Regions from separate parts of the Homo sapiens genome. Here regions 1, 2, 3 and 4 are each linked to region 5. The links are contacts of gene promoters, found by promoter capture Hi-C in human tissues and cell types (Jung and others, 2019). All regions are on one chromosome and are shown on one strand. The core of a region is centred on a gene start or on the middle of the fragment in contact, and the rest is flanking DNA. Distances in the headings are between cores, read along the strand shown.

Region 1 (2,772 bases), core at 169-2,668, 76 kb after region 5:
ACTCAAGCTCCAGCCTTAAGCCTTCCCACAGGAAAAAACTTCTCTTTATACATCACAGGGAGAGCAGGAATAGTTCTTGGAGTCCTTACTCAGATTCATGGGACAACCCCACATCAGTGGCATACCTAAGTAAGGAAATTGATGTAGTAGCAAAAGGCTGGCCTCACTGTTTACAGGTAGTTGTGGTGGTGGGAATCTTAGTGTCAGAGGCTATCAAAATAATACAAGGAAAGGATCTCACTGTCTGGACTACTCATGATGTAAATGGTTTACTAGATGCCAAAGGAAGTTTATGGCTATCAGACAGCCGCCTGCTTAGATACCAGGCGCTACTCCTTGAGGGACCGGTGCTTCAAATACACACATGTATGGCCCTCAACTCTGCCACTTTTTTCCCAGAGAATGGGGAAACCAATCAAGCATGACTGCCAACAAATTATAGTCCAGACTTATGCCGCCCAAGATGATCTCTTAGAAGTCCCCTTAGCTAATCCTGACCTTAACCTATATACCGATGGAAGTTTATTTATGAAGAATGGGATATGAAGGGCAGGTTATGCCATAGTTAGTGATGTAACCATACTTGAAAGTAAGCCTCCTCCCCCAGGGACCAGCACCCAGTTAGGAGAACTAGTGGCACTTACCCAAGACTTAGAACTGGGAAGGGGAAAAAGAATAAATGTGTATACAGATAGCAAGTATGCTTATCTAATCCTACATGCCCATGCTGCAATATGGAAAGAAAGGGGGTTCCTAACCTCTGGGGGAACCCCCATTAAATACCACAAGGAAACCATGGAATTATTGCATGCAGTGCAAAAACCCAAGGAGGTGACAGTCTTACACTGCCAAAGCCATCAAAAGGGGAAGGAGAGGGGAGAACAGCAGCATAAGTGGCTGGCAGAGGCAGGGAAAGACCAGCAGAAAGGAAAGAGAGAAAGAGACAGAAAGTCAGAGAGAGAGAGAGAGGAAGAGAGAGACAAAGAGGGAGTCAGGGAGAGAGAGAAAGAGAGACACAGAAAGTCAAAGAGAGAGAGGAAGAGACAGACAAAGACGGAGTCAGAAAGAGAGAGACAAAGAAGAAGTCAAAGAGAAAGAGAGATAGAAGTAGTAAAGAAAAAACAGTGTACCCTATTCCTTTAGAAGCCAGGGTAAATTTAAAACCTATAATTGATAATTGAAGGTCTTCTCTGTAACCCTATAACACTCCAATACCACCTTGTTGTCAGTGTAAACAAGGGTATAGCCTGAAAGCACTGAGGCCACTGACAACACGTAGGCTTCCTATCAAAAATCCTTAACCCAGCAGGTTTCCTAACAGGGGATCTAAATCTTAATTAATTACCATACAAAGGTCAGACCAGATCTAGGAGGAACTCCCTTCAGGACAGGACGATAGATGGTTCCTCCCAGGCAATTAAGGAAAAAAGACACAATGGGTATTCAGTAAATGATAAGGAAACTCGTGTAGAAGCAGAGTTAGGAAAATTGGCTAATAATTGGTCTGCTCAAATGTGTGAGCTCTTTGCACTCAGCCAAACCTCAAAGAACTTACAGAATCAGGAAGGAGCCATCTATACCAATTCTAAGTTAATATGGACTGAACAAAGTCTTATTAATAGCAAAGAATAATTGAAATCCCAAACTTACAAGGTTTTCAACAAAAGTAAAGTTTGCTAAAAGTTAACAGTGTAAACATATATCATCCTAACTTCTAATCTTGTGGAAATCAGACCCTATCAGTACCCCTCAAAGCTCAAGTCCATCAGCACAGAGCCATACAACTAATACCCCTACTTATAAGGTTAGGAATGGCTACTGCTACAGGAACCGGAAGAGCCAGTTTATCTATTTCATAATCCTACTACCACACATTCTCAAAGGATTTCTCAGACAGTTTGTAAGAAATAATGAAATCTATCCTTACTCTAAAATCCCAAATAGACTCTTTGGCAGCAGTGACTCTCCAAACTGCCAAGGCCTAGACCTCCTCACTGCTGAGAAAGAAGGACTCTGCACCTTCTTAGGAGAAGAGTGTTGTTTTTACACTAACCAGTCAGGGAGAGTACAAGATGCCACCCGGCATTTACAGGAAAAGGCTTCTGAAATCAGACAATGCCTTTCAAACTCTTATACCAACCTCTAGAGTTGGGCAACATGACCTCTTCCCTTTCTAGGTCCCATGGCAGCCATCTTGCTATTACTCGCCTTTGGGCCCTGTATTTTTAACCTCTTTGTCAAATTTGTTTCCTCTAGGATCGAGGCCATTGAGCTACAGATGGTCTTACAAATGGAACCCCAAATGAGCTCAACTAACAACTTCTACCAAGGACCCCTGGACCAACCTGCTGGCCCTTTCACTGGCCTAAAGTGTTCCCCTCTGGAGGACATTAAAACTGCAGGGCCCCTTCTTCACCCCTGTCCAGCAGGAAGCTGCTAGAATGGTCATTGCCCAATTCCCAACAGCAGTTGGGTTGTCCTGTTTAGAGGGGGGATTGAGAAGTGAAGCCAGCTGGGCTTCTGGGTCAGGCGGGGACTCAGAGAACTTTTCTGTCTAGCTAAAGGATTGAAAACACACCAATCAGCACTCTGTGTCTAGCTAAAGGTTTGTAAACGCACCAATCAGCACTCTGTAAAAACGCACCAATCAGCACTCTGTGTCTACCTAAAGGTTTGTAAATGCACCAATCAGTACTCTGTAAAAACGCACCAATCAGTGCTCTGTGTCTAGCTAAAGTTTGTAAACACATCAATCAGCACTCTGTAAAAAGG
Region 2 (2,762 bases), core at 46-2,545, 96 kb after region 5:
TCCCCCCTCTGCCACCCACAGGTTAGTGGATGTGCTCACCTCACTTGACCTCTGAGTTTCAATGTCCCCATCTGCAAAATAGGTGTACATCTGCCCTAGCTACCTCATTCCATTTTCCATGGACCTTGCTGGCCAGTCTAGAGCAAGAACACTGTGACTTAGAGGTAAAAGAGCTGCCATCTACCTGGGATCCATGACTCTTCCCTTCAGAGCCCTCCCATCCGCTGAAGAAGTGGTGTCCTTTGCTCCTCCTGCCCTCTTTACTCTGACTTCAAGTCAAACCCACAAGCTGCTGTGTTCCTTCCTCCTCACCAAAGTGGTAACAGATTCCTCCACCTCACACACATTGTGAACAGCTTGAACTTCAGCTATGCATGCATCTGTACAAACATGCACACTCCACACACTAACACACATTTTGCCCCTTGGTCCTGCATTCCCCACAGTCCCCACTTGCAGCCCCCAGCCCTATATGGTCCGGGATCACACTCCTCTGCCCCACTCCTGGCCACAGTCTCCACTCCGTATCTCAGCCAGACTCACATCTCTCCGCCTGACAAGAAAATGGGGGCAAGAGACAGCCAGTCCCCATTCATTCCAGCTCTGCATACCCTGACGTTTCACCCCAGTTTTTCTGGAACACCCTGATTGATGTCAGGTAATGAGGACAGGTGCCTGTTTCCCTCACTGAAGCCACTCTTTGTACAATAAATTACAGGGTCATAGATCTTTGAGTCACTCTGCTGGACCACAGGGGTCAGAGATGTCACTAGTTAAGGCTCTCTGGACCCAGCCACTCACGGAGTTGTGGGTAAGGGTGTGGCCTGGTAGGGGTGAGGGTGTTGGGGGTGGAGTCGCTTCCCTCTTCTCCCCTTTGTTCCTTCCAGCTCTGTTCTATCGATGTGATTTCATCATTATGTTTAATGATCATTTAAAACAGCTTGCCATCCTTCTGGAATCAGAGTGTATGGGGGGAAATAGGGAAGAAAGTGAAAGGTGCTCTCCCACTGCTAGGTGCCAAGTCAAACACCATTCTCACTGTTTCTAGACAGCTTCCTGGCTTTCTCTAGGACTTCAAACATGGAGGGGGGTCCTGTCATGAGTAACTGTGGGGAACTTACTCTCCCCTCAGAAAGCTAGTGTGGTTCTGACTGCCTCTTACAAAACATCTGACTGGGGACAGGTCGTAAAATTCGCACAGGTCTGGACTTTACTAAATTACCCATGGTTAGGGGCTAGATGGTCCCATCACCCTCCGGCCCGCACTCCTCCGATCAGGACTCCAACAGGAAGAGTGGAGGAAGGGCGGGACCTGTGATGTCATAAGGGCACCTGTGATGCAGGCACCAGGACAGCTTCCAGCATATGAGCCTCTTCTAAGGAAAACCTAGAAGACCCCAAGTACTGACCCATTGACACAAAGGTATATAATGCTGCTCATTAAAATCTGGCTGGTATTCATTAAATGCCTTTCAGTTCCTTTACACCCTGGTATTCCAAATAACTATTAGAATGGGTTTGCTCTCTATGTACAGATATAGAAAAGTACAAGATTTCATAAGTGAATCAAATCAAGATGAAAGGCAAGGTGATCCCAATATAAACACACATTTATACACATGTGCTGTAAAGGCATTATCTTAAAAAGGGGGGATAGAAGGATGTACACAAAAACTAACAATATCTCTGATGAGGACGGTGGAATTGGAGGGACACGAAAAACTCCTTCACTGTTGCTAAGCCCCCTATGTCTGACCTATCTGCAGGTCAGTCTGTTTTTAGGCACCTGAGAGGACAGGACACACACAGGCCAGAAAACTCCTTGAGGCCCCCAGGACTAGCCTGGGCTCCATCCAAAGCTCAAATGGGTTAAAGTGCTCTCCTGTCTTCCTCTGTCCCTGAGCACCTCAAGGCCACGATCAGATAGATGAGGGTGGCCTCTGCAGAAGCAGGGCCCCTTTCTGCCTGATTGCAACCTCTTAAGACCCAGCTGGACGTGGTGAGGCACAGCCCCCGTGGTCACTGAGGAATGCACTGGGAATGTGTAGGGTGAGTATGGGAGAGGCCGATGTGGATCTGTAGGGGGAATGTAGGGAAGAGGAGGAGGTGCTTTGAGGATGGCGGGGGTGTCAGTTTGAAGTTAATGGAATGAGGGAGTGGGGAAGACAGCAATGAGGTGGGGGATGGGGAAATAGTGGGGTACAATGTGTAGGACAGAGAGGGAGCAGGAAGCACCTATTTGAAGATAAAGATCTTGGCCAGGCCCCCGGGAGACCTCTGTCAATTTAGTGCCTCCATCAGTCTGGCTCCTGAGTCAAGCCACTAGTCACCACATTCCTGTCCGTGGTAATAGCAATGCAGTGATATTAGTCCCACTTCGCAATGGAGGTGCAGAGATCATGCCTGGCTCACGTCACCCTGTTTCATAGCTGGTCAGCTGTGGAGCTAGCATTTGGTCCCAGCTCTGCTCCACCCTGAGCCTTGGCTCTAAACCACCACATCATGCAGACCCCAGCATCTCCATGTTTTCCCAAAGCTTCCGGTTCTCATCGTTTCTAGAAAAATCCCGCTAAAAAACCTCCATCCTGAATCTTAAAAAATTAGCCAAGCAAAAGAAGCCAGACTCTGAAGAAGGCACACTGTGAATCCATGTGTGTGCACTGCAGTGGGGACAGCTGTCGTCAATGGGGACACAGCAGTGGTTGCCCAGACTTTGAGATGGAGACTGAATGGGAACTATGTGGGTAATGGAATGTTCTAGA
Region 3 (2,700 bases), core at 183-2,682, 110 kb after region 5:
GAACAATTTCCGGATCTTCTCTGTGGTTATGCTTGCTTGAGGTTTGAGGTGAAAACGTTGAAGCAGATGTTAGCCCATGATTGAAAATTTTCTTCTGCAGATGCTTTGTCTCCTTTTTTTTTAATTGAAAATTTAGTTTTCTCTTGCCCTTGCCTTCATTTTTTTTCCCCCTTTCCTTCCTGAATCACTCCGTCAGTCTGAAATCCTCAGGCTGGGCAGTGCAACATAGCTGCACCAGGGGGAAAGAGAGCCACCATGGAACAGAGCCAGGTGAGGGAGGGTCACAAGACAGAGGAGGAAAGCATTGTTCTAGGAGGGACCAGTATGGAACCCAGGCAGTGGGAGGAGGAGTTCACACAGGGATGTAAGTCCATACCAGTAATAGCGTCATATTGGGCAGGATGAGAAGGGCATCCTTGGTGGCATAGACCATCAGAACTTGAGCACAGTGAGGAGGATATCCACGCAGAGGGTAGCCTGACATTTTGTGTCAGCTCAGGTTGGGTGAAAGAGCATTTACCCCAGTCGTCAGACCAATGTAGGGAGCCACAGCCTGAGCCACAAGAAGAGGACAATAGACGGCATCGTATATCAGAGATCAAGAGAAATGGGCCATTGTCTCTGTGAGAGAGGGGCCAGCAGTAGCTGTGCAGAATTAGTTGCACAAAGGGAAGATCAAATAAGAAAATGTATTAAAGATCATGGGAGCTAGGGGTGTCATTCTCAGAAAAGAAGAGGTAGAAATATGGAAAGGAGGCCGGGCACAGTGGCTCACACCTGTAATCCCAACACTTGGAGGCCGAGATGGGTGGATCACTTGAGGTCAGGAGTTCACGACCAGCCCAGCCAACATGGCAAAACCCTGTCTTTACTAAAAATACAAAAATTAGCCAGTCGTTGTGGTGGCCGCCTATAATCCCAGCTACTCGGGAGGCTGAGGCAGGAGAATTGCTTGAACCAGGGAGGCGGAGGTTGCAGTGAGCCGAGATTGTGCCAGTGCATTCCAGCCTGGGCAACAAAGCCAGACTCCATCTCAAAAAGGAAAGAAAAGAAAAGAAATATGGAAAGGAGAAAACTAGAGTGAATTCTTAAATTTGGGATTGGAGGTATCAGTGTGAGCTCACAGATTTCCATATAGATAGGCACAGAAATGAACACAGATATAAATGTGCGATGCTTGTGCATATACACAAACATGTATTTCCTGGCTCTGTCCACTGAGGAGGCCTGGGAGTGGGAGTACCTCAACAATGATGAGCATGCCTCCATATGCTCTGCTGGGCCACTCCAGCTGACCCCAGAATTGGCTGCTTTTTCCATGGCTACCAGTATTTAAGGCTTGTTTGTGACCCCTTTCCTTGTTTTGATGCTGATGCAGAATTATTTTTTAGCTTTATTGAGGTATAATTAACAAAGTTAAATACAATGTAGGTGTACAAACTTGATGTTTTGAAGATGCTAGTTTTTATGGTGCTTGACTGTTTACCCTGGAAGGTGGGGAAGGTTAGCACCAGTTCACAGCTCAGGACACTGGTCTCAGAGAGGGGAAATCACTTGTCTATGGCCACAGGGCAATGAGAGGTGGAGCAGTCAGAGGTCAGAGCTCTGTGCCCTGATACTCTGAACACAGGACAACAGGGGCAAGGAGAAAGACAAGAATCCTTCAGAGTGGGTATGAGAGACCCAGGCCCTGAATGAGACACAAGGGGCAGGACATGGCAGGACAGAGCAGGAAATACAGAGCTCATGCTCGAGAGCTAGAGCCTGAGACTTCTGGGCAGCATCTCAGAACATCTATGAGCTGAGGGACCAGCTCTCCAGGGCACAGTCACTGAAGCAGGGCTGGACATAGGGCTGTGACCCAGACCTCAGAATCCTCCCTCTGTGCAGGGAACCACAGGACAGGGACAGCAGTGTTGACAGGCAGATGTTCAGCCTAATCTTAACCTCTTTTTTTGTTGTTATTAATTTTTTAATTTATAATTGACAATAATTATACATAATTATGGGGTACAATGTTATATTTCAATGCATGTATATATACTATAATGACCAAATTGGGATATTTACCATATCCATCACTTTAAACATTTATCATTTCTTTGTAGTGACAACATTCAAAATCTTTTTTTAAGTATCTAGAAATATATACTACATTGTTACCTGCTAAATGGCAAACAGGTATATGAAAAATTGTTCAACATCAGTAATCATCAGAGTAATGCAAATCTTCACCTCTTATTTGGCCCTTATCATCACCTGGGCCCCAACCCCACCCCAGCTGGCAGCATTTCACAGGGAGGGACTTTCAGAGGAGCCAGCTCTGCCTGGATTGGCCCTTGCAGAAGTTGGGCCAGTGGGGAGGGTAAGGAACACAAAACTAATGCCTCCTCAGCTCCTGCAGCTGTGATAGCCTGAGGTCTAACACTCACCAGAGGGTTGGGTTGGCAGCAAAATGCCCTCTCTCCCACCCCCTTGCCTGTGGAACCTCCCATACCAGCCTGGTCTGGAGGAAAATGAGTCCTAGTTTTCATACGGGGCTCGAGGGCAAGGGACAGTTGGGGTTTGGGGTTAGGATGAGGACTTGAGTTATGCTAACAGCTTCCAGTTTGGGTCTCAGATTCTTAGAAGCCAAGTATAAGGACATAGCCCCCAGTGCAGCAGGGAGACAAGATCACAGGGCTTGGGGTTGGGGGGCTC
Region 4 (2,700 bases), core at 176-2,675, 86 kb before region 5:
GCTTGGCTTCCCCGGCTCCCCTTAGGGAGCTACCCTTGGGTATTGAGGTGTTGGGAGCCAGGCCTCTCCCCTTTGTTGGCCTAGGCACTGGAACCTGCTCCTTAGCCTCTCTGGCTTTACCCCACCTCCCTCCCTTCCCCCAGGAATGAAAGCACAAAGCCAGCCTTTGCTAGGGCGGCGTGGGAGCCACCACTCTCAAAATACCAGCTCGGATATTGTAGCTTGGCAGCCCTGCAGGACCCTGGGGGCTGAAGCTTGTCTGGATGGTGCTGTGGGGTTGGGCTGTCACCAGTCCAGAGGGAGCCTTCTTCCCCAGGCAGATGGAATTTACTTATCAAAGAAGAATTCTGTTGCTCTTCTCCAGGAAGCTTGAGATTGGAATTAGGGAGGGGAAAGAGATTCCAAGGAGAGAATTTGCAGTGCACCCCCTCTCCCCCAAGCAGAACAACTTCTTCTTCAGCTGAGCCCTCAGATTAGGAGAGGCTAGCTGTCTAGTTATGCAGGTGGGAAGGAAAGGACTTCACTGAGGAGTGGAGCAGAGGTCAGAGGTACCAGTTGGAGATGAGAAATTCAGGGCCTTCTCCTTCTCTCCCTCTCTTCTGTCCCCTGTCTCCTCTCCATTCCCACTTGCCCACTTGTCCTTCCCCTCTGGCAATTCCTGACTCCTCTGGCTCTCAGGTGCTTGGCTTCCCAGCTCCATCTGTACGAGCAGCCTTCCTGCTGCTGGATAATCATCAGCAACCAGTTTGTCAGCTTGTGAGCAGGACAGGGCTCAAGGTCCTTGACTACACAGACAAGCTGCTAAGAATGCTGGATCTTGGAGAGGGGGTGGGCTGTGGAGCCTGCGATGGTAGAGCCATCATCTGGAAGGCTGTGGCTCTCCTCCCAGATTTGCAAGGGAGAGCAATGGGATCAGGGCTGACTCACCCAGTGCTCTAGCTGAGCTCTCCTTGGGGTACTCACTCCTGTACTCCCCAACCCTCTGGTCTGGCCACACAACGGCCCAGGCCCAAGAAGGCCAGAGCAGGGCTGAACCAGGGTTGTATCTTGGCCCTCTGGGCCTAGAGAAAGGTAAGGCTGGGTATGGATGCAGGATTAGGGGCCTCCCAGTCCATCTGGGCACTAAGGTGCTTAAGAGCCTGTGTCCCATGTGCCTGCTTAGAGGGAAACATTGTTTCCCCACCCCTCAATACCCCAGGCTGCCCTGTGCTTGACTGCTGCCTAGGCCCTCCTCCACAGGACACCGAGGAAGCCAGGGCCTGCGTCGTGCCAGGGAGATGAATAGAGGTGTAAATTGTGTGGTGAGCTGCCGGCTCTGAGGTGAAAATGAAAAGTCTTCAGGCAGTGGCGGCAGCAGGCGCAGCAGGCTGGGGTGCCAGGCACAGCACACCGTCTCCCGCCCCATTCTCTCTCACACCTTCCCACTCCTGCAGTCTTCCCCAGGTTCCCACCCAGGCCTGGACCTGCCTCCCTGGCTCCTCTGCCATTCCCTGCCTTTCAGCCGGTGGCTCCCAGGCTGGCCCTGGGCTCGACCTAACCCCAAGAGGGCCATTATATCTCGTTTCCATTATGTTTTTTTTTTTTTTTTTTTTTGAGACAGAGTCTCATTCTGTCACACAGGCTGGAGTGCGGTGGCACGATCGCGGCTCACTGCAACCTCTGCCTCCCGGATTCAAGCAATTCTTCTGCCTCAGCCTCCCAAGTAGCTGGGACTACAAGCATCCGACACCACGCCCAGCTAATTTTTGTATTTTTAGTAGAGATGGGGTTTCACCATGTCAGCCAGGCTGGTCTCGAACTCCTGACCCCAGGTGATCTGCCCACCTTGGCCTCCCAAAGTGCTGGGATGACAGGCGTGAGCCACCACTCCCGGCCTCCATTATGTTTTCTACTTGGCTGATCTGTTGCACAGAAAAATGGGCTGTGCTTGAGTTACCTTTGTGACTTAATGTTTGTGGTAGTCCCTCCATTGATTCTTTTTGGGTTTTCTGAGTATAGTTTTCTTACCGTCACATAATGGTGTTTTTATTCATCCTTTCCAGTTCCTCACTTCTTTTGAGATCATCTATTCTAATCCCTTTCTTTCCTTCCTTCCTTCCTTCCTTCCTTCCTTCCTTCCTTCCTTCCTTCCTTCCTTCCTTCCTCCCTTCCCTTCCCTTCCCTTCCCCTTCCTTCCGTCCGTCCTTCCTTCCTTCCTTCCTTCCTTCCTTCCTTCCTTCCTTCCTTCCTTCCTTCCTTCTTTCCTTCTTTCTTGTTTTGCTCTGTTGCCCGGGCTGGAGTGCAGTGGCGCGATCTCGGCTCACTGCACCTCCATCTCCCGCATTCAAGCAATTCTCCTGCCTCAGCCTCCCGGGTAGCTGGGATTACATGCACCTGTCACCACACCTGGTTAATTTTTGTATTTGTAGTAGAGACAGGGTTTCACTATGTTGGCCAGGCTGGTCTGAAACTTGTGACCTCAAGTAATCCACCCGCCTTGACCTCCCAAAGTGCTAGGATTGCAGGCATGAGCCACCGCGCCTGGCCAAAGAGGGAAAGAGGGAGGGAACGATAGGCCAAAAGCCTACAGCACCCGGTATTCCAGGCAGTCTCCCATCCAAGTACTAACTAGACCCGACCTTGCTTAGCTTCTGAGATCAGACAAGATCAGGTGCATTCAGGGTGGTATGACTGTAGACCCTTTATTTCATACTTGGGCAA
Region 5 (2,700 bases), core at 199-2,698:
AGGACATTATAGGATTTAGAGGCTGTGTGCCCAATGACCTCCAGTGGCAGAGGGACAACCCTTTCCCCTGCCTATCCCTAGTCCTCTGTTTGTTTACCTGCCCCCATGCCACCCCCACAACCATCCCCCCACAGCCCCCAAGTCTCTCTCCCCTCCCTGATCCCATGCCTGGTTCTCCAAGGAAGTGCCCAGCAGAGGGGAGGGAAGCCTTGTTGTTCAGCCCCAGGGTGGGCAGGCGGCAGGCACAGCTGCTGCCCTCAGCTCCTGCTCTGGCTTCCCCAGGGGCTGGCTCTGGCTGGCTGCTCCCTGACTCCCTTCCCCACCATAAGGCACAGCGTCTGTCCTGCTGTTGCCCAGCTGAAGTGCCATGTCCTCCTGGCTCCCTGCCAAGCACTCTGCCGGCCCTGAGGGCCTTGCCAAGCACAGGCCTGTGGAATCCTGGCCTTCCCAGCTGGCCCTGGCTGCAGCCAGATTCTCTGATCTTCTGATCTGAATGGAGATGCCTGGACAGGGGCTGCAGGAAACTAAAGCCCAATGCCTACTCCCACTGTGGAAGGGGCCAAAATCAGGCTGACTGAGGCATCATTGCTTGACCTGGGCCCTGGGGTCTCTCTTGGATGCAAGACTGTCCCGGTATGCTGTTAGGAACAGGGGCCTAGGTTGGTGACCTGAGGACAGGGGCTCTAGACCACACCAGGGAATCTTTCTGGGGGGAAGGCAGAAAACTTAGAGGCTGAACCCTCCTCCATGAGTCTAATCTCCAAAGGGCAAGTGTATGGTCAGTAAGGGTCTTTATTGGAAGAGAGATCCAGCCTCCTTGGCTCTGTCAGCGCCCTAGGTCATGAGGATTTCGATGTCAAGCTCCAGCCGGCTGGCTCTGACCTCATAGTGGCCCCGGATCAGGCCTCGGGTTTGGCTGGCATGCCAGCGCCAGTGAGACTGGATGATGCAGGCCGCTTGGCGTGCCTGGAGGAACCGCCTGCGGGCCTGCCACATTCGAACCTGTGCCTGCACCTTCACCACCGCCCACTCCTGGCAGGTATAGAGTCTTAGTGCCAGGCGCCGTCTTTGCTCCAACATCTTGGCCTGCATTGACCTCCACCAGCACTGGATGACCCAGGCTCTGAGTGCTGCCTGCAGTAACGTCCGGCGCACCATGTTTCCACGCCACCATGACTGAATCTTTATGGCTGTCTTCTCTAACTGATTGGGGGAAAGGAAAAACAGGGAGATGCTCAATGGGGGACCCTCCCCTCCTGTTCCTATCCCCATCTCTGATCTTGGGAGGAAAGAAGGCCTGGCCCAGGTGCCCCTGACTTCTTGTTTCTAGGGCCCATCCATCTTGTTTCCAATCCCCCACTCACATTTAGACACGGTTCATTACCTGTCAGGTAAGTCCCTACTGCAAGGGCCTTACTCACATTTTGCGTGTCCATGGCCTTGATCCTTAGGGTCCACTTATCTGTCACTTAGGCCACCCTTGTCTTTAGCCCCACCCTCAACTGTTAGTCACACCTCCATCATTGGACTCCGCCCACTTGCACACAAGACTCTACCTCATCAGGTCCCGTCTGCACGCATTTTAACCACATTTCTCTCTCCTCTTCTCTTGCTTTCATCTCTTTTGCTTTATTGATTCCCACCACTTTGGGAGCCTACCATTATCTCTTGCCTTCAGTTTATTTCTCAGCCCCAGTGGCATTCCTGATCCTCCTGATGGCAGTGAAGAGAGAGTCATGCAGCTTACCTACAAGGAAGGAGTTTTACTTTAAGCCTCTACTCATAGCCAATTTGGATTTCCTGAAGCTTAAGTGTCAGGGCGCCTGTCAGGGCCCGAGGAACGTGTTTACAGAGCTGTATATTTTTGGGTAAAATTTGTGAAAGCAAGATATTTCAGCTGCAATTGGAGAGGACCTCTGTCTCTCTTCCCTCTTACTCCCTCTGTCACTCACCTCCTGTTGAGTGGGGTGGAATGGCAACCTCTTTTGCCACGAGACTAAGGGAAGGCTGAGTTGGGATAGACTCAGTTTTTTTTTTTCTTTTTTTTTTTGAGACAGAGTCTCGCTCTGTCGCCCAGGCTGGAGTGTAGTGGCACAATCTCGGCTCACTGCAAGCTCCGCCTCCCAGGTTCAGGCCATTCTCCTGCCTCAGCCTCCTGAGTAGCTGGGACTACAGGTGCCCGCCACCACGCCCGGCTAATTTTTTGTCTTTTTAGTAGAGACGGGGTTTCACTGTGTTAGCCAGGATGGTCTCGATCTCCTGACCTCGTGATCCGCCCTCCTCTGCCTCCCAAAGTGCTGGGATTACAGGCGTGAGCCACCGCGCCCGGCCTAGACTCAGTTTAACAGCATAGATTTGTGTGGTTCACAGTCACCCTTGGGAACACATAAATCCTTGCTAGCCATTCTGCTGTTGCTGTGTTCATTCACCTTGCTCATGGCGTGAAGATGCAGGAACAGAAGGGCTGCTATCCAATAAGAACGTGTCTTCCAGTGCTGGCACCAAAAGTATTTGGGCAGGGGAGGAAAAGTAAATGTGAAAAGTATGGAACCAGAAGCCAGTCTGTAGAAAATTCTTCCTGTTATTAGATGTGTAAAACTATAAGTGGAAGATTCAAGTCTCATTGATGCCTGATTAAAATTGAAGCTCTCTCTTTTCAGGAATATACTTGACAATGCAATGATACAATTTTAAACATTT

Evidence for each region. The method cuts DNA at HindIII sites, captures the fragments that hold promoters and counts their contacts. A contact is called where the count stands out against the background at its distance.
Region 1: a contact is called between a fragment that was not itself captured here and the fragment with the promoter of IQCF6 in region 5, in 2 of the 25 tissues and cell types used here (adrenal gland and thymus).
Region 2: a contact is called between the fragment with the promoter of IQCF5 here and the fragment with the promoter of IQCF6 in region 5, in 2 of the 25 tissues and cell types used here (heart right ventricle and thymus).
Region 3: a contact is called between a fragment that was not itself captured here and the fragment with the promoter of IQCF6 in region 5, in 7 of the 25 tissues and cell types used here (IMR-90 fibroblasts, dorsolateral prefrontal cortex, heart right ventricle and 4 more).
Region 4: a fragment that was not itself captured here is called in contact with the fragment with the promoter of IQCF6 in region 5 in 3 of the 25 tissues and cell types used here (H1 embryonic stem cells, ovary and pancreas).

What each region holds. Positions count from the first base shown.
Region 1 is chr3:51,853,748-51,856,519 of GRCh38, forward strand. No RefSeq gene overlaps it. Among named protein-coding and RNA genes, the nearest start is that of IQCF2, 6.5 kb to the right of the region's middle. The HindIII fragment of the contact is 3,432 bases long and covers 1-2,772 here.
Region 2 is chr3:51,874,306-51,877,067 of GRCh38, forward strand. IQCF5 (IQ motif containing F5) reads right to left here and starts at 1,296. Exons shown (of 2, transcript NM_001145059.2): 1 at 1,223-1,296. The coding sequence starts at 1,226. It overlaps IQCF5-AS1 (IQCF5 antisense RNA 1), which reads left to right. Exons shown (of 3, transcript NR_109984.1): 3 at 83-1,462. The HindIII fragment of the contact is 13,062 bases long and covers 1-2,762 here.
Region 3 is chr3:51,891,788-51,894,487 of GRCh38, forward strand. No RefSeq gene overlaps it. Among named protein-coding and RNA genes, the nearest start is that of IQCF1, 10 kb to the right of the region's middle. The HindIII fragment of the contact is 5,841 bases long and covers 1-2,700 here.
Region 4 is chr3:51,691,905-51,694,604 of GRCh38, forward strand. All of the region lies in intron 3 of TEX264 (testis expressed 264, ER-phagy receptor), which reads left to right. It also overlaps the pseudogene RNA5SP132. Among named protein-coding and RNA genes, the nearest start is that of GRM2, 14 kb to the right of the region's middle. RefSeq lists an enhancer at 1-581. The HindIII fragment of the contact is 3,839 bases long and covers 1-2,700 here.
Region 5 is chr3:51,777,789-51,780,488 of GRCh38, forward strand. It overlaps IQCF6 (IQ motif containing F6), which reads right to left and starts at 1,449. Exons shown (of 2, transcript NM_001368369.1): 1 at 1,365-1,449; 2 at 775-1,203. The coding sequence starts at 1,436. The coding sequence ends at 835. The region is part of intron 2 of LOC105377087 (a long non-coding RNA gene); the gene reads left to right. The HindIII fragment of the contact is 12,191 bases long and covers 1-2,700 here.